7 separate regions of the Homo sapiens genome follow, and regions 1, 2, 3, 5, 6 and 7 are each linked to region 4. The links are contacts of gene promoters, found by promoter capture Hi-C in blood cells and fetal thymus (Javierre and others, 2016). All regions are on one chromosome and are shown on one strand. Each heading gives the region's core, a stretch centred on a gene start or on the middle of the fragment in contact. The rest is flanking DNA. Distances are from core to core; before and after follow the strand shown.

Region 1 (2,700 bases), core at 66-2,565, 690 kb before region 4:
TACAGTCTGGTGTTTAAGGCCCTCTATACTCTGGCTCCATTCTATTTCTCGAGCCTTCACTTAACTACTTAAAACTCATGACTGCATTAAGCACTGCATAAATGTGATGGAGCAGAGAGATGCGTGAGCTAATAATCTAAAATCACCTGTCCCTTTTCACCGAGCCCTGGCCTTCTCTGCAGAGCAAAACTCCATGACAGCAGAAGCTTGGTTTTGCTTACTGCTTTATCTCCAGTGACTAGTTGCCAGCACTAGTTCTGTCAATAAACATTTGGTGAATGAATGAATGATTCTCTGTGTAATTATATGGACTTGTACTTCTTTGCTACAGGTATTGTGGCAAACAGCTACCTTAAATGTATATTTTAGGAAGAGAATGTTAATTTATAAGACGCTAAAAGACAATGTTTACAGTATAATTTATTTATATTTCAAGCTTTCCTTTTGGAATAGAAATACCATTCATAGAGTCCAAGAAGCAGAAGTCATCTAACAGTGAGCCCAGCCTGCAGTGAGCCCAGCCTGCAGATCCACATCAGCAGACTTAATGCCTTGTACTTCTAACCTTTAACTAAAGGTGAGGAGGGGCTGGGCACGGTGGCACACACCTGTAATCCTAGCACTTTGGGAGGCCAAGGCGGCTGGATCACAAGGTCAGGAGTTCAAGACCAGCCTGGCCGACATGGTGAAATCCCATCTCTACTAAAGATACAAAAAAATTAGCTGGGTGTGGTGATGCACACCTGTAATCCCAACTACTTGGGAGGCTGAGGCAGGAGAATCGCTTGAACCTGGGAGACAGAGGTTGAAGTGAGCTGAGATCGCACCATTGCACTCCAGCCTGGGCGACAGGGCAAGAGTCTGTCTCAAAAAAAGAAAAGAAAAAAAGAAAAAAAACCAAAAAAACAAGAGGAAAGGGGGGTCAGGGAGAGGACTGAGTTACAATTAGTTTTTTCATGTCACAATTGATACTCAATCTTGGTGACATGGTTATTTAGTGACTGCTCTAGCAAAAGCCACATTCCGCGAAAAAAGAAAAAAAGTAATCTATTGACAACAGAACTTGGTACTGAAATGTCTAAGTGAGTGAATCTGAGAGGGAAAAAGGTAGTGATGCCCAAGAAAATAGCTATCAAAATGGGGACAAACAATTCATAGCAGGGGAAACACTGAGCTAAATAAACAGTATACAACAAGGTCAAAAATACCTAAGTTAGGCTGGGCGCGGTGGCTCACGCCTGTGATGCCAGCACTTTGGGAGGCTGAGGCGGGCAGATCACGAGGTCAGGAGATCGAGACCATCCTGGCTAACATGGTGAAACCCCGTCTCTACTAAAAATATAGAAAAAAATCAGCCGGGTGTGGTGGTGGGCGCCTGTAGTCCCAGCTACTCGGGAGGCTGAGGCAGGAGAATGGCATGAACCTGGGAGGCGGAGCTTGCAGTGAGCCGAGATCGTTCCACTGCACTCCAGCCTGGGCTACAGAGCGAGACTCTGTCTCAAAAAAAACAAAAACAAAAAAAACCCACCTAATTTATAAGATAATAGAGGGAAGAAACTATTTGAATCAACTTCATTTCTTTTTTTTTTTTTGAGATGGAGTTTTGCTCTTGTTGCTCAGGCTGGAGTGCAGTGGCGTGATCTCAGCTCACTGCAACCTCTGCCTCCCGAGTTCAAGCGATTCTCCTGCTGCAGCCTCCCAAGTAGCTGTGATTACAGGTGCCCGCCACCACACCCAGCTAATTTTTTTGTATTTTTAGTAGAGATGGGGTTTCACCATGTTGGCCAGGCTGGTCTCGAACTCCTGACCTCAGGTGATTCACCCGCCTTGGCCTCCCAAAGCACTGGGATTACAGGCGTGAGCCACTGCAGTCGGCCGAATCAACTTCATTTCTAATAATCTGGGCTATTTTGGTTCAGCATAAGAGGTAGTATTAAAAATTCCATCTCCAGATCACAGTGGGGAAAACAGTTGACTACTGTTTCAAAGAGATTTTTTTCCTTATGAACAAATAAAAAGGTAACTTACCTGACCCCTCATCACAGACATCTGACTTTCAAAAGTGGCTTTGTCAAATCCTTTGTCAGTCTATTATAGAAAGGAAAAAAACAATTCCCAAAATAAAGACTTTGATATAAATATTTGAAAACAGATGAACTCTTCAACTCAGCAAATAAGGCCATTAAAAAGCTTTCCTAATTGATAAAATAAAACAAAAATAGTATTTTTACCTGAGGTATTTTTGTATACTCCCAGAATGACACGAATAGACTTATTTATTTGGACCTGAACTTGTTCCAGAAAGGATTTAACATGACTTTCCAGCCAATGAATTTAGGCTTTTTAAGAGAACTAAAACATAGCAGGTCACCAAATATGTATTATAATTTATAGAGTCTTCTTGTAAAAATTCAACTTTTGAAGAAAACAGCAAATTAAGTTTTAATGTAGTCTCACTTCAAAGAATGCTCACAGTAAGTATAGCTTTATGAATCTATGCTCCTGTAAATAAAACTGCTAATTCCTCTCTGTCCTGTCAGGTTTTATGGCAAGCAGCAATACAAGAAATAGAAAATTGCAAATCAGCTCTATTAAGCAGTCTCTTCTATTTTAAGATTTCATTTTCTGCAATAATCAAACTAAGCATTAACTTACCTTAAAAAGTTCATAGAGATCTTCACATAAATCTTGCACAAAGTT
Region 2 (2,700 bases), core at 88-2,587, 810 kb before region 4:
AGTAATGCTTTTACAGCTTTTTCAAAACGAAAAAAAAAAAAAACTATAAAGGGCTAAGAATTAGAAGCACCAGACCTTCCATCAGCAACAAAAAGCACAGAATCCTATGGAACTCTGCTTTTGAAGTTCTATGTGAAAACCAATAACCCTCAGGGAATCCTAAAGCCAGCTGTCAATTAAGTGTGAGGGTAGGAGAAAAAACACAAAAGGAGATAAAGTTTACCTTCTATGTCTGCTTTTTGAGAAAGTTACTAGAGGATGTTTTCCAGCAAAATGATTAAATAAGCCAAGAAACAAAGGCAATCCTGGCAGTTCTGGGTCTAACCCAGGAGAGTAATGAAGAAAATGCCCGGGTGGTAGCCGTGCAGGAGAACTGGACCACAGCTGCAGGCTGAAGCAGAGGGGTGGGAGGCTAAGGAAGGCATCTGGAACAGGGGACTCCAGAGGTACTACACCACCCTTCAGAAGGGAAAGGACGGAAGGATGCAGAAAAAACAGACAATGCAAGAAAACAAGCAAGCCTAACAGTCTAAGAAAAACAAAACAAAGAGAATAACTTCTAAAAATTGACAAAAGAAATGTGGCATAGTCATACAATTTAGAAATATGGAGGTAACCCATAGAAGAACTAAAAATAGAAGTAGTTAAAGAGTTAAAATGATTCCCTCTGGCGAGAAGACCTGAGGTAAGGATGACCAGGACAGGAAAATACAGCTTTACTTTATAAATTCTCTGTGCTGCTGGCTTTTCGGAACCATATAAAGGCATAATTGTGATAAAAATTTAAAAACTGATTTTAAGAGAATCATAACAGCTTACTAGGTTCTTATTTAGGTCAAAAGTGACATATTCTTAGGTCAGTGATTCCAGGTACTCCCAATACTTACTGAAGAAGTTCATTTGCCTTGAGTATAAAAGAACCCACAGCAGTTATAGCTTCTAAAGGGAAAAAATAAATAAACGTCATTTGTCAAATAAGTAAACTGTGTTTAATGTATTTCACTGAGAAATTAAATCACTACCTTCGATTCCTGCAGCATCTAGTCCAAGAGGTTCATATTTTTGCTTCCATGAAGCCATTCCTTTCAATTCACTCAAATGGTATAATAAAGACTCCGAGCCACTATCCAAACAGAGCAGAAATAAATTAGTATCATGACGATCATCAAGTGACTAACTTGCCTGAATATTTCTAAATTTTCAGAAATAAAAACTGAAAGTAACTTTCATTTTGTTTCCATGAGAAATAATTATTTCTCAAAACTGTTCCTAAAAACTGCAGCAGAACCATCTGGTCAATGTGACTACAGAGATAAACAAATGACAAGATCAAATTTTGTAAGATGATCAAATTGTGTTCCACAGTTAGTCCTGACCCTTTTAAGACAGTTGTACAGCCATCTTGTTCACCCAACTACTACACAGTCAATGTTCAATAAATATTTCTTAAGTTCCCATTTTGGGTCAGGTACCGTGCTATATACTGGGGACATAACGGTGAACACAATCAAAGGGTCTCATGGCATTGACAGTATAACAGGGAAGACAGTCATGATCGCATAGTCATACAGTGTACCATTCCAACTACTATAAATGCCTTGAAGGAAACACATGGGGTGCAGGTATAACAGAAGAACCTGAGCTAATCTGGGATTCAGAAAGGCTTTTCTGAAGGAATGAATGAGCTGAGAGCTGAAGAATGCATGTGAAGAACAAGTTGGGACAAGAGGAATATGCAAAAGCCCTAGGCAGGAGACAAAATGTCAAGTTGGAGAAACTAAATGGCCATCAGTGTGGGCGAGGCAGAGAGGCAGGTATGCTAAAGGCCACACAAAGGTCTCCATTCTAACGGAAGGCATTAGAAGTTTTTAAGAGAGAAATATGTTTAGCTCTACTGGGGAAAATACATTCAAAGGACAGTGTGTACTGAAAGAGCCCAACTAGTCCAGAGGGTGCTACAGTGGTCCAAGGGAGGGGTGATGTAGTTAGGGCCAGGGACTCAGCATAAAGGAATATACCAAAATTTAAACCAAACACCACCAGGTGTGGTGGCTCATGCCTGTAATCCCAGCACTTTGGGAGGCCGAGGCAGGTGGATCACTTGCGGTCAGGAGCTTGAGGCCAGTCTGGCCAACACGGTGAAACCCCGTCTCTACTAAAAATACAAAAATTAGCCAGGCGTAGTGGTTTGCGCCTGTAATCCCAGCTACTTGAGAGGCTGAGGCAGGAGAATCGCTTGAACCCGGGAGGCGGAGGTTGCAGTGAGCCGAGATCACATCACTGCACTCCAGCCTCGGCAAGACTCCATCTCGAAAAAACAAAAAACCAAAAATCAAACAAAATAAATCAAACGCCCAGCATCCACTTGTAAAATGCTTCAATGAAGTAGCTATGGATAGAAAAAGCATGAGATTTGAAAATCTAGGATGAAGTCTTGGCTCCGACACTTAGTAACTTTGGGCCAGCCATATAACTGATTCTGAACTTCTGTATCCTCTTGTGTAAAATCACCAACACCTTGCCAAGATATTAAATAAATAAATATACAATATTCTTGGTAAACTGTAAAATGTTAATCTCACTGCTCAAAAAAAAGATATATGCCTTATTTCAAAATATACTTCATGCTTAGCTGATTAAGAAAAAAACCCAGATAGAGTCTAGCCTGGTGAAAAGATGTTGGAAAATTACTTCATAAAG
Region 3 (2,700 bases), core at 197-2,696, 650 kb before region 4:
CGTGAAGGTCGCAGCTTCACTCCTGAGCCAGCGAGACCACGAACCCACCAGAAGGAAGAAACTCCGAACACATCCGAACATCAGAAGGAACAAACTCCGAACACACCGCCTTTAAGAACTGTAACACTAACCGCGAGGGTCCATGGCTTCATTCTTGAAGTCAGTGAGACCAAGAACCCACCAATTCCGGACACAATAGCACCAGTAGTTAAAACCATTTCTGCTGAAATGGACTTTAGGGAAGTTATAAGAACTACCTTTATGAAATTAATCACTTTAATCACAGATATTGTTCAGCATACAGCATTCACCAAGAGACTGTGACAGGCTACCCTTTGTCTGTTCTGTTTTGGTTCAAATAACCAGTTTATTTTAACTGTATAGACCACATGATTGTGTTTCTCTCAAGTTAGCTGCTCAGTAATTTCAAAAATCAAATCTGTGGGTTGCCTGCATCAAGCATCTGAGGTACATCTTGTGTAATCTTACTCCAGGCTCCATCTTCTCATCTTTCTTCCTTTTAAATGATTTTCTTATTCTGTTCACATATTTATAAACCACCATGAATCATTAAATGACTTACAAATTCACATTTTCTTTTACTTTGGCAGCTCTTTGTGAATTCTAACACTGTTTTCTAACTGTTAGGCTCTCTAACAGGAGCTAAGCGCTCCTGATTTGTATTAACTGGGACCTTGGAGAAGTCACTTCACTTCTTTGTGCTTTTTCTTTTTTTCTTTTGAGACAGGGTCTTTTTCTGTAACCCAGGCTGGAGTATAGTGGTGCAATTATAGCTCACTGGACTCAGTGTAACCTGAAACTCATGGACTCAAGCAATCCTCCTGCCTCGGTCTCCTGAGTAGCTTGGACTACAGGTGTGCACCAAAGAGGCCTCCCAAAGTGTTAGGATTACAGGCGTAAGCCACCATGCCCAGCCTCTCCCTATACTTTCTTAAAATGAGAACAAGGCCAGGCATGGTGGCCTTGTAATCTCAGTGCTCTGGGAAGCCGAGGCGGGAGGATCATCTGAGGTCAGGAGTTCGAGACCAGCCTGACCAACATGGTGAAACCCCGTTTCTACTAAAAATACAAAATTAGCCAGGCATGTGCCTGTAATCCCAGCTACTTGGGAGGGTGAGGCAGGAGAATCGCTTGAACCTGGGGAGTGGAGGTTGCAGTTAGCCGAGATTACGCCATTACAATCCAGCCTGGGTGACAGGAATGAAACTCTGTTCCCCCACTGCCACCCCTACAGCCACCCACTGCCAAAAACAAAAAAAAAAAACAAAAATAGTACTCACATCACAGGGTTGGTTATGAATTAATATATATGAAGCATACAGAACTATGCCTAGCGCATATTAACTGCTATGTAGGCATTAGCTGTCATTACTACCGAATTCACTGATTAAAATAACTAGAACAAGGAATGCACTAATCCTTCCACTTTGACACTGATCCAACAACACTATGGTTTATGCTGTTTGTAGGCTTTGTTAAATGCCTTGTTGAAGATAACAGACATATGACATTCTTCCACTGGCTAAAGTACATAAACCTCTTGCTTATATAAGTAAGAGTTAAGCATCATAAATGATGTTCATATTAATCTAAAGGCAAGAATTTCTTGGAACTAGTGAGGTAGTTTCATGGAAATCGGATGGTAAAGGACAAATGAAGTTAATGGAGTCATTTAAAAAATAACTAAACTTAAAAAGTATTAAATTACTCAATCATGAACATTTTAGTCTTTAAAAATTTTTTAAACAGTTTTCACAGAAACTATTTTAAAGTCCTATTAAAGGTAAAAACCTCCAAAATAACCACAGACACAATTATTTTATAACACTTGTGGACCCATGGCAAAACGGAAAAGGGGCAGAAGATGAAGAAAGAACCAGGCTTCCTCCTGATTTATTACTTCCTGGATATTTGACTTCGGGCAAACCATTTACCTCTGAAGACCTGAGCTACCAGTCATTACCAGTTTATTAATTCTGAATCCTCATAATGAGAATAATGGCGAATAACAACTAACTTGCTGTGCTGTTGTGAAAATAATTAATTTTTTTTTTGAGACAAAGTCTCACTCTGTCACCCAGGCTGGAGTGCAGTGGAGCCATCTCTGCTCACTGCAACCTACACCTCTCGGGTTCAGAAGCGATTCTCCTGCCTCAGCCTCCCAAGTAGCTGGAATTGCAGGCGCCCGCCACCATGCCTGGCTAATTTTTCTATTTTTAGTAGAGGCAGGGTTTCACCATGTTGGCCAGGCTGGTCTGAAAACTCCTGACCTCAAATGATCCACCCACCTAGGCCTTCCAAAATGCTGGGATTACAGGCATGAGCCATGGCACCCAACAGAGAATAAAATTTATTTATTTATTTATTTATTTATTTATTTATTTATTTATTTATTTATTTTTGAGACAGAGTCTTGCTCTGTCTCAAGACAGAACCAGGCTGGAGTGCAGTGGAGAATAAAATATTTTTTTAAAAAAGATCTTAGCAAATTGTAAACTGTGATACAGGTAAGATATTACCTTTAAAAAAGGTAGGAATTCTAAGAATCCATTTGTATTCTAACACTATACTCTATCCTCACTTTGAATTTTTGTTGTTGTTGTTGTTTATTTTTTATAGAGATGGGGATCTCGCTATGTTGCCCAGGTGGGTCTCGAACTTCCAGCCTCAAGCTATTCT
Region 4 (2,700 bases), core at 44-2,543:
CATCAGTTGCAATATTTAAGTTGCATTTAATCCTAGCAATTGCAGTCCTGAGATTTGGATAAGAACCAGAGTATGGTCTTCCAGGGCAGCCAAACCAAGCCATTCCATGAACAACAGAGATCACCCTGCTGCAGATGGTCCACAGATCTTTTCTTGTGCATTTCTTCTGGGAACAAATGCAACTGAGGAAGCAGACATATTCTAGGGGGAGAGATCCACAAAAATCCTTAGAGTCATCTTGCCCCACCTCCTTGTTATGGCTTTAGGTACAGCCCTTATGGCTAGGAGATGTAACCTTCCTCAGCCTTTGCGTCTACGTCTACAAAATAACAACTACCTTGCAGGGTGTTATTTAACACTGCGAAAGTGCATTAATAGGCACAGAAAAACAAAAAACAAAAAAGCAAATTGTGCCCTCACTGCGAATTCTCTGTATTCTAGTTAAAAACATCTATAGCTTGGGTGCATGGTGTCCGTGCTGGGCAAGAAAAGGGCAAAATAGATCATGACAAGCCTTAACATTTTCTCACTTCAGTTTCCTCACTGCAATTGATTTTTTTTTTTCTTTCAAGTCGGAGTCTTGTTCTGTCGTCCAGGCTGGAGTGCACTGGTGTGATCTCGTCTCACCGCAACCTCCGCCTCCCAGGTTCAAGCGATTCTCCTGCCTCAGCCTACCGAGTAGCTGGGATTACAGGCGTACGCCACCACGCCCAGCTAATTTTTGTATTTTTAGTAGAGACGGGGTTTCACCGTGTTGGCCAGGCTGGTCTCGAACTCCTGACCTCGTGATCCACCCGCCTCGGTCTCCCAAAGCGTTGGGATTACAGGCGTGAACCATCGCGCGGCCCCTCACTGCAACTGAGGGTAGCGCAGTGGCCGCAAGTTCCAGATCTGGAGTTACTAAATAGCTGGGTTCCAATCCCGGCTCTGCCACTTATTAGCTGTACGATCTTCATTCGTTTCTCAACCTCTCTGGGTCTGAGATTCCCTTAAAGCCGGGGTAATAGAAATGAATAGGATTTCCTAACTAGGACTAGACTTTCTCAATTTCTTGACTCAGAGGGGCAAGGATAGCCTGAAATGGAAAGTGAAGGCCTTCAGGTTCTTCCTAACAGCCGCTCCGAGGAGGGGAAAGCTACAGGAAGAGGGAGGAGACCCAAGAAAGGTCGGACCAATGAGGCAGCGGGCGGGACAGGAGTTCCCGCCTTTGGGCGTCGTGCGCGCGCACCTCGCTCACACGCACACTCGCACGCACGCACGCTGCGGAAGCGCGCGCGCGCGCAGGCCCAGCCCTCGTCGCCGCCGCCATTTTAGCTGTTGGTTCCGGCCGCACCGTGTGGGCTGTAGTAGCGGGAGGGGTGGGGGTCCTCCAGAGTTAAGTGGCTGTCCTCGACTGTGCCCATACAGCAGCCAGCTTTCTTCCTTAATAACTGCCCGTTCGAAGAGTGCGAGGATGTCCAAGCGGCACCGGTTGGACCTAGGGGAGGATTACCCCTCTGGCAAGAAGCGTGCGGGGACCGATGGGTAAGCCAGGCCGGGGGCGCGAGGCGGCAGCTCGGGCTTTGTTGGGGTCCTGGCAGGGAGCGGGCCGGGGCTGGCCTGGCCGAGCGGGTCCTGGAGCCCGAGCCTTTGTTTCTCTCTGGGCTGGGTTCACTAGCGGCGGGTAGGAGAAGCGCGGCGCCCGTTCGGCCCGGCAAGGGCGCGGGGGGTTGCGTGCGACGGGGCCGCTGCCCAGCCCAGTCCGGAGGGTGGAGAGGCCTGCAGTAGCCATGAGGGCGCCTCCTCCCCCAGGCCGAACCGAGCGGGAGTCATTTGCGAGGGCGTCGGGCGGGAGTGAACCGCGGACCTCGTGGCCTCGGTTCCCGAGGAAGGCCTGGAGCCGGAGGAGAGGGTGGGGGAGGGCGCGGTGGGAGTATTCGCTTCCAAGGGCAGCAGGCACTTCCCAGCCAGAGGGGCCGTGGGGAGGGCCTGGGTGGGGGCGCGGCCAGGCACTCCAGACGGGAAAGGCGGAGGGCGGAAAGTGAGAGCAGCGCGTGGATCATAATGTAGGCTGGGATGGGGGTGGCGGGAGTTGAGAGAAGCCAGCAAATAGGGAGTTCTCGGGGGAGGTGGGAGTAGAGGACCTGCCGGGAGAAAGGAAAACGTGGAGTAATATACCTGATGGGCTGGAAGGCTGGTGTTTTGGGGCGACTGAGTTTATAGTTTGGCGGGAGAGAGCGTGCCTTGGTCCATTCAAACACTTCAAAGTAGATACTAGCAAACTTCCGCTCTCTGCCTACGCTCCCGCCATCTCCTGTATTTCCTGCTTTGGTTAAAACTGGTTACTGAACATCGTCCCATGGGGAGGGATTAGAAGGCATTGTTTTTTTTTTTCATCATTTATTTTCTATGCATGTCCCACTTTTCTTCATAAGTAGCTTTTGAAATACAGGGATCATGTTCAAAACGTGTTTTTAGTATTTATGGCGAAACACCGCCCATGTGGAGGTTGAGAGTTGAAATACTTACACAAACTCTTGGTGTTCCAGATTCCTTTCCTTAAAGGTACAGAGGAATTTAGCAGTTAATTTAAGCAATTTCGTGAAAATCATTTCTTGTCCCTTGTGTGTTTTCATTGATGAAGTACAAAGACCTGTTTGGATAATTCAGGCAAAACCCACAAAAGCCCGAGTAGCCAAATACTTTGCATAATTGTATCAT
Region 5 (2,700 bases), core at 37-2,536, 740 kb before region 4:
CAAAAACGCACTTGACAAAATCAAACATCCACTGATGATAAAGATTCTCAGGCTGGGTATGGTGGCTCATGCCTCTAATCCCAGCACTCTAGGAAGCCTGAGGCAGGAGGACGGCTTGAGCCCAGGAGTTTGAGACCTGCCTGGGCAACACAGTAAGATCCTCATCTCTTCAAAAAGTAAAAAAATTAGCTGGGTGTGGTAGTACACACCTATAGTCCCAGCTACTGGGGAGGCTGAGGTGGGAGGATCACTTGAACCAAGGAGGTAGAGTCTACAGTGAGCCATGATCGTCCCACTGCCCTCCAATCTGGGTGACAGAGCAAGACAGAGAAAAAGAAAGAAAAGAAAGGAAGGAAGGGTGGTGGGGGACGAAGCAAGTAAGGAAGGAACGGAAGGAAGGAGGGAAGGAGGGAAGGAGGGAAGGAGGGAAGGAGGGAGGGAGGGAGGGAGGGAGATTCTCAAAAAACCAGAAATAGAAGGGCACTTCTACAATCTGATAAAGGGCATCAAAGAAAAACCTATTGCTAACACCATACAGCTGAAAGACTGAATGCATTTCCCCAAGACTGGGACAAAGCAAAGATGTCTGCTCTCAGCCTTCTACTCGACATTGACTAAGGGTTTCTAGCCAGTTTGATAAGACAAGATAAAAAAACAAAAGACATAAATTGGAAAGTAAACATTAAAACTTCTTTATTCACAGACAACATGATCACACATGTACAAAATCCTAAGGAAATCTTCAAAAAGCCTGCTAGAACTAGTAAGTAAGCTTATCAAGATTTCAAAATAAAAGATCAATATATAAAATCAACTGTATTGTTAGAGTCTAGCAATAGACAATTAGAAACTGAAATTTTAAAACAATACAATTTAAAACCACATTAAAATACATGAAATACTTCGTGATAAATCTGACAAAAGATGTGTAACTGCAGTGCACTGAAAATTACAAAACATCACCAAGAAAAATTAAAGATGACTTAGTAACTGAAGAGATACACCACAGTCACAGACTAGAAAACTCAATACTATTAAGATGTCAATTCTCCCCAAATGTATCTATAAAATCAACACACTCTCAATCAAAATCCCAGCAGGATTTTTTGTAGAAACTGAAAACCTCATTCAAAAAATTCATATGAAAATAAAAAGGACCTATAATAGCGGAAACAACTTTGAAAATAATGGACAAAGAAGACTTACACTACCCAATTTCAAGAAGACATTATAAAGTCACAGTAATCAAGACAATGTGGTATTTATGTAAAGATATACCTATAGGTCAAGGGAAAAAAATAGTCCAGAAAAAAAAACACATATAAAGTTAACTGACTTTTGAGAAAGGTGCTGCAGTAGGCTGAATGATGCCCCCTCACTCCCCACATCCTACCAAAGAGAATATGGAACCTGTGAATACACATATAGGACCAAAGAGAATTTACAGATGTCATGAAGTGACGGATCTTAAGATGAGGAGGTTATCCTGGGTCATCTGGGTAGACTCAACATAATTACAAGGGTTCTTATAAGCCAGAGGCAGTGGAGTGAGGGAGAAGATTATGTGGTGACAGAAGCAGAGACTGGAGTGATGTGCTATAAAAACGGAGCACGGGCCACAGCCAAAGATGCAGGTGGTCCCAGACGCTGGAAAAAGCAAGAAACAAATTCTCTTCTCAGAGTCTTCAGAAGGAACTAGCCCCACCAACAGCTTAACTTTAACCTGCTTTAGTTGATTTTGGATGTTGGGCCTCCATTACTGGAAGAATAAATCTATGTCGTTGTATACCACTAAGCTTGTGGTAAGTTGCTCCAGCAGCAACAGGAAAACTAATGCAGGTGCCAAATCAATTCAACAAGGAAAGGATAATATTATCAACAAATGGTGCTGGAAAAGTATTTTTTTTTCTCTCTAATCCCACAGCAGATAAGGTGCTGGAAAAGTCTGAAAGCCATATGCAAAGCAATGAACCTTGACTCTTACCTCACTTCATATAAAAAAACTAACCCCGAATAGATCATAGACCTAACTCTAGGAACTAAAACTAGAAAACTTTAAAGAAAACATATTAGAAAATAATAATGACTGGGTTTGGCAAAGATTTCTTAAATAAGACTAAGCACAAAGTGTAAGAATCAATAAAATGAACTTCGTCATGACTTAACATTTTTTTCTTCAAAAGATACTCTTAAGTGACAAAAAATAAATTGAACTTAATAAAAAATTTTAAACTTTTGCACAGCAAAGGATACCATTAAGAAAGTGAAAAGACAGCACAGTGGCTCACGCCTATAATCCCAGTACTTTGGGAGGCTGAGGCAGGCAGAGCCCTTGAAGTCAGGAGTTCGAGATCAGCCTGGCCAACATGGTGAAACACCATCTCTACTAAAAAAAAATTAGCCGGGTGTGGTGGCACACGCCTGTAATCCCAGCCACTCAGGAGGCTGAGGCACGAGAATCACTTGAACTCAGGAGACAGAGGTTGCAGTGAGCCGAGATGGCACCACTGCCAAAAAAAAAAAAAAGAGAGAGTGAAAAGACGACCCAAGAATGGCAGAAAATATTTCTTTTTTTTTTTTTTTTTTTTTTGAGACGGAGTCTCCCTGTCGCCCAGGCTGGAGTGCAGTGGCGAGATCTCGGCTCACTGCAGGCTCCGCCTCCCGGGATTCACGCCATTCTCCTGCCTCAGCCTCCCGAGT
Region 6 (2,700 bases), core at 8-2,507, 770 kb before region 4:
TTGTTGTGCTAATTAACTATAAACATATGGTATGTAAAATGCATGCTGCTAGAGTAAATTAATGTACCTCTAACATATATCCATATTTCATAGCTTCAGCCACACAAATAAACCTCCTATGGAAGTGCTGTAAAGCAAACACAATTTTGCAAATTGCCTATCACTAGTAGTAGAGCTGATACACCATTTTCCCATCATTATCCCTGACATTTCACTCACAATGATGATGAGAGGCATTTTCAAATAGAAAATTTCTCCCATGGAACTGATTTAATGTGATGAAGTACTGTATAGAAATGAGGGAAAGCACAAAATCTCTGCAATTTCCAATTTTTAATTTTATCTATACGCAAATGTCTTCTGTAACATGAGACTGAAACTAGTTAAATGGAGACCGAGACGTCCATGTCAACATTTATTTTGTGCCTACTATGTTCCAGGTATCAGGCCAGGAAAGAAAGATTAAATAAGACAGAGTACTTGCATTTCTGTAACTCCCTAAGGATTGTGTTCTATTGGATTTCAGCACACACACAAAGTCCCCAGTACCTTCTTCTGCTCCAGCAACCAGCTTCTACCACAGCAGCAAAGTCTATCATAATACCCATATCCCATAAGCTCTCATTTGAAATTGACATGCGGACATCTTATACCCCTTTTTACTTCAAACCCACTACATGTTTTATGTTTATTACAGATTAAATTTTAAGAATTTTGGTAGCCATCTTTTAATTTGCAATAATTTTCCAGAAATTGCTGCCAAAATATCTTCATTTCTGACTGTGAAACTAATCTTGAAAAACATACTGTCCTAACAGGCTGATGTTTAAAAAGGATAGCTTTGACAAAAGCAAAGAGCTATATTTTTAACACCCCAAACAAGTGTCCCATATTAAGTACATACAAGAGAGAGCAGAACATCTCAGGTGGAAAGGAGGTGAGATCATCTAATTCAGACACAGAAAATTCAGGACATGAACACCACCACTCCCTGACCCCACCCCCATGGTGGACACCACTAATCACATTACTCTTTGCTACCAAGCCTGGTATTCTCAACAAATTCTCCAGAAAATCACTAGCAATTTATCAGGCTTAGTACCAAAAGAGAAACTTATCTACCATCTCTTTTCTGATTCAATCATTTTATTTTATAGGTAAGGAAACAGAACCTGGAGAGATAAAGTGACTTCTCCCAAGATTAAGTGGTCTCTAAAAGGCAGTGCCAGGACTCAGACTTCTGACTTGAAATCAGAGTTTCTTTTCATCATCACATCCTTCCTTTCTAATCTGTTGTTAATAAAACTCTTGGTTTTCTAGGTCTTTGATGACTGTTTTATTCTGTATTCATCAAGTGCTTGATCACTGAAGAGTCTACATAATTTATGTTTTATGAAGATTTGCAGCATTTCTGCCTTCCTCTTACCTGGGAAGTATTTCCAAAGAAGGGATTTAGTGATTTGGGGTTTTTTACTGCATTGTGGTTTGGGGGCTTATAATCATCTCAGGTGATGTCCAAAAAAAAAAAAAAAAAAAAGGCCTAATCAAGGTCTATGGGAAAAGATCTGTGAAGGAGAGGGGACTCAAAGTTTTCATTCAATGAAGGCTAATATACAAGAAAAAAAAGTACCACAAAATGAAGTTAGGCCAGGCATGGTGGCTCACACCTGTAATCTCAGCACTTTGGGAGGCTGAGGTGAGAGGCTCGCTTCAGCCCAGGAGTTCGAGACCAGCCTGGGCAACACAGAGAGATCCCATCACTATTTAAAAAAAAAATTTTAATGAAGTTAAAGTAACAAAAGAAAAAGAGGAAAGCAAAATGCTCAGAAAGGAATAATAGGTCCAGAGAAATTTTCAAAAAATAGAAAAATTGTCCAAGAACGTAATCAAATAATGTTTATAAATACATGAGGAGATACGGCACAGTTTCTCCAACATGAGCATGTAATGGACAGTACTGTTCTTCCCTTTAGCAGGAATTAGGAAAAACAAATTTGCTTTTAGACTTTGTTCTCATTTTTTTTCCCAAAGGTTGGCTTTCTCTTTATTGAGAAGACTGCTTTTTAGCCTGTCAGACACATATGACCTAATCAGAACCTTTCTTCATCAATACACTGAAGTGCATAATTATTGTCCACACTTGGACCTTGCAACTATTTCTCAAAACTGTAACCCTAATATTTCCAAAAGTTCTTTCCTAGTAACACAGACTGCCTAACAAGTGACAGCTGGTTACTCCAAAATTGCCTCTCTCATCTGCTGTATTCTGGATCTGTCTTCTTTTGTCCTCTCACCATTTCAAACTCTTGCCCATAGTGAAAAAAGAAAAACTCCTCTCTAAATATGGATGTAACAGTTTTCTAAGGGCACGAATTATTAGGTTGGTGCAAAAGTAATTGCGGTTTTTGCCATTAAAAGGAATGAATGAATTAAAATGAATGGCAAAAACTGTAATTACTTTTGCCCCAATTTATACAATTATGCAATTTTAATCTCTCAGATTTATCAAAAAAGGACCTGAGGGAGAGTTTTACCCCTACCTTGGGACTATCTGAATGATGACAATGACAGTGATGGTGATGACAATGCCGACAGCAAGAACCTAAACTTAATACTTGCTGTGTGTTAAGGACAGGGCTAAGCCTTTCCAGGTATTATTTCATAAAATCCTTAAAACCTTAAAAGACAGATATATTGCCA
Region 7 (2,700 bases), core at 79-2,578, 610 kb before region 4:
ATTGCTTTGGATATGTGGGCTCTTTTTTGGTTCCATATGAATTTTAGAATTGTTTTCTCTAATTCTGTGAAGAATGATGGTGGTATTTTGATGGGAATTGTGTTGAATTTGTAGATTGCTTTTAGCAGTATGGTCATTTTCACAATATTGATTCTACCTATCCATGAGCTCCTCCTCAACATAGTATTGGAAGTCCTGGCCTGAGCAATCAGACAAGAGAATGAAATACAGGGCATCCAAATTGGTAAAGAAGAAGTCAAACTGTCGCTGTTTGCTGATGATATGATTGTTTACCTAGAAAACCCTAAGGACTCCTCCAGAAAGCTCCTATAACTGATAAAAGAATTCAGGAAAGTTTTCTGGATACAAAATTAATATACACAAATCAGTAGCTCTTCTATACACCAACAGCGACCAAACTGAGAATCAAATCAATAATGCAACCCCTTTTACGATAGCTGCAAAAAAAAAGATACTTAGGAATATACCTAACCAAGGAGGTGAAAGACCTCTACAAGGAAAAGCTACAAAACACAGCTGAAAAAAATCACAGACAACACATACTAATGGTCTTTACATACAAACACTTTCTGGCCTTTCCTTTCTCTGTGCATAAGTTTAAAAAGCTTTGTTTTTCGTGGTTGTATTCTTAAAGTACATGCAACTTTTATTCAGTTTTACCTCAGTGAAAATTATATCATAAGCTTTCTTAAGTATGACTTTTAATGGCTGCTTAATATCCTATTGAATATATGTATTTTAATTTGCTTAATTATGTACTGTTGAATAATTAGTTTTTTTCTAGCTTTTTACTATTATAAAACCTGCAGTAACTGTCTTGCACATACAGCCTTTTCTGTTCTATTTAGGCAAATTCTTTCTTTCTTTCTTTTTTTTGAATAGAGAAAGGGTTCTCACTATGTTGTCCAAGTTGGTCTTGAACTCTTGGCCTCAGATGATTCTCCCACCTTGGCCTCCCAAAGTGCTGGAATTACAGGAGTGAGCCACCGTGCCTGGCCTCTTTCCACAATTTCTCTAGATATAGCCACACTCCGGGAGAGCATTCCTGGGTTGCGTTAATGATTCTTTCCATGACCCTGGGAAGTTGGCTATGCAGGAAGTTGGCTAACACAGAGGAAGGAGCATGGGTTTTGAGGGTCAGACAAACTTATATTCAAATCCTAGCTTTGGCCGAGTGTGATGGCTCACACCTGTAATCCCAGCACTTGGGAAGGCTGAGACAGGTGGATCACTTGAGGTCAAGAGTTCAAGACCAGCTTGGCCAACATGTGAAACCCTATCTCTACCAAAAATACAAAAATTAACTGGGTGTGGTGGTTGCACACCTGAAATCCCAGCTACCTGGGAGGCTGAGGCATGAGAATCGCTTGAAGCTGGGAGGCGAAGGTTGCAGTGAGCTGAAATCACACCACTGCACTCCAGCCTGGGTGACAGAGCAAGACTCTGTCTCAAAAAAGAAAAAAAAAATCCTAACTTTGCCATTGATTAGCTGTGTGACTTTGGAAAATAACTTAACCTCTCTGACTCTCATATTGTGCATTTGTGATACAGAGATAATAATGCCTACTTAATGGTGCTACTATATTATGAAGATTATTTTGTAAAGCACTTATGGAGATAACTTCCCTGAATTAACACAGAGTAAAAGATATTTCCTGTACTTCCTTGAAAACAACAATGTTGTGGGGACCTTTAAAAAAATTGAAGTGTGGCTTATATACTGTAAGGTGCACATGTTTTAAACACATAACTTGACGATTTTTAAGCATATGTCTAAACCCAAGTAACTACAATTCAGATCAAGAAATAGAACATTTTCATCACCCAGAAGATTCCCTTATGCCTCCCACTTCCCCATCAGTAACCATTTTCCTTCTCAGAGGTAAGTGCTGATGTCTACCAAAATGGATTAGTTTTTTGTCTTAAGCTTTATTATTTTTTCTTTTATTTCTTTAAATAAAGTCTCTTATAAATTTATTTCCCCAACAATTTTGTCATTAGGATAGCATTGGCTTTCACCTAGATAACAAGATTTTTCAGCACAAATATAAAGTTTTCTGTAAGTAGCATCCAGTAGTTAGTCCTACGCTGAATCCAAAACCTCTTATTTTGCATGTCATTCTTTCCCAGTCTTCAGTTGCACAGCGGAAGAGGAAAAGGGTGGAAGAGCAGAGGAAGAGAGGGTGCTATTTTATCAGGGACAATGAGAATTCAACATGGCTGGGGAGGCCTCAGGAAACTTACAATCATGGCAGAAGGCGAAGGGGAAGAAAGGCACCTTCTTCACAAGGCTGCAGGAGGGAGAATCATCTTAACCTTTATTTAAAGGAATCAGACAGTATATACTTTTGTGTTTCTGGTATCTTTTGCTCAATAATTATGTCTGTAAGATTTATCCATGCTGTTGTGAGTTTTAATAGTTTGTCCTTTTATATTGTGTCATATTTCAAGCTCTGAACATCCCAACATTTGTTTATCTTTCTGCTATTGATGGACATTTGAGCTGTTTCCAGTTTGGATCTATTATGAACACTTTGGCACATATCTCTAGTGGACACAGAACACTCATTTTTTTTGGTATATATACCTAGGAGTAAAATTGCTGGGTCATGGGGTAGGTGAATATTTAGCTTTGGTAGATATTTCCATTATCGTCTACGAAGACAGATTTTGAAAAGC

What was found. Contacts are between HindIII fragments. The CHiCAGO score rates a contact against its expected background, and 5 or more counts as called.
Region 1: a contact is called between a fragment that was not itself captured here and the fragment with the promoter of DHX15 in region 4, in 1 of 17 cell types (fetal thymus). The highest score is 5.8, in fetal thymus.
Region 2: a contact is called between a fragment that was not itself captured here and the fragment with the promoter of DHX15 in region 4, in 1 of 17 cell types (total B cells). The highest score is 5.2, in total B cells.
Region 3: a fragment that was not itself captured here is called in contact with the fragment with the promoter of DHX15 in region 4 in 8 of 17 cell types (total B cells, fetal thymus, neutrophils and 5 more); the score reaches 9.0 in total B cells.
Region 5: a contact is called between a fragment that was not itself captured here and the fragment with the promoter of DHX15 in region 4, in 2 of 17 cell types (non-activated CD4 T cells and neutrophils). The highest score is 6.8, in non-activated CD4 T cells.
Region 6: a fragment that was not itself captured here is called in contact with the fragment with the promoter of DHX15 in region 4 in 2 of 17 cell types (total B cells and total CD8 T cells); the score reaches 6.0 in total B cells.
Region 7: a contact is called between a fragment that was not itself captured here and the fragment with the promoter of DHX15 in region 4, in 1 of 17 cell types (total B cells). The highest score is 5.0, in total B cells.

What each region holds. Positions count from the first base shown.
Region 1 is chr4:25,268,532-25,271,231 of GRCh38, reverse strand. PI4K2B (phosphatidylinositol 4-kinase type 2 beta) reads right to left here. Exons shown (of 10, transcript NM_018323.4): 8 at 2,656-2,700; 9 at 2,029-2,088. Among named protein-coding and RNA genes, the nearest start is that of PI4K2B, 36 kb to the right of the region's middle. The HindIII fragment of the contact is 1,754 bases long and covers 439-2,192 here.
Region 2 is chr4:25,395,087-25,397,786 of GRCh38, reverse strand. It overlaps ANAPC4 (anaphase promoting complex subunit 4), which reads right to left. Exons shown (of 29, transcript NM_013367.3): 15 at 1,023-1,123; 16 at 888-939. Among named protein-coding and RNA genes, the nearest start is that of ANAPC4, 19 kb to the right of the region's middle. The HindIII fragment of the contact is 3,223 bases long and covers 1-2,700 here.
Region 3 is chr4:25,235,928-25,238,627 of GRCh38, reverse strand. The region is part of intron 1 of PI4K2B (phosphatidylinositol 4-kinase type 2 beta); the gene reads right to left. Among named protein-coding and RNA genes, the nearest start is that of PI4K2B, 3.2 kb to the right of the region's middle. The HindIII fragment of the contact is 3,257 bases long and covers 1-2,700 here.
Region 4 is chr4:24,583,147-24,585,846 of GRCh38, reverse strand. DHX15 (DEAH-box helicase 15) reads left to right here and starts at 1,293. Exons shown (of 14, transcript NM_001358.3): 1 at 1,293-1,524. The coding sequence starts at 1,454. RefSeq lists an enhancer at 855-1,394 and silencers at 1,575-1,694, 1,705-1,784, 1,985-2,034. The HindIII fragment of the contact is 7,218 bases long and covers 1-2,700 here.
Region 5 is chr4:25,325,132-25,327,831 of GRCh38, reverse strand. All of the region lies in intron 3 of ZCCHC4 (zinc finger CCHC-type containing 4), which reads right to left. Among named protein-coding and RNA genes, the nearest start is that of ZCCHC4, 14 kb to the right of the region's middle. The HindIII fragment of the contact is 1,024 bases long and covers 775-1,798 here.
Region 6 is chr4:25,353,743-25,356,442 of GRCh38, reverse strand. The region is part of intron 8 of ZCCHC4 (zinc finger CCHC-type containing 4); the gene reads right to left. Among named protein-coding and RNA genes, the nearest start is that of ANAPC4, 22 kb to the left of the region's middle. The HindIII fragment of the contact is 2,938 bases long and covers 1-2,700 here.
Region 7 is chr4:25,197,756-25,200,455 of GRCh38, reverse strand. SEPSECS-DT (SEPSECS divergent transcript) reads right to left here. Exons shown (of 2, transcript NR_037934.1): 2 at 1,950-2,700. The region is part of intron 1 of LOC105374535 (a long non-coding RNA gene); the gene reads left to right. Among named protein-coding and RNA genes, the nearest start is that of PI4K2B, 35 kb to the left of the region's middle. The HindIII fragment of the contact is 1,244 bases long and covers 707-1,950 here.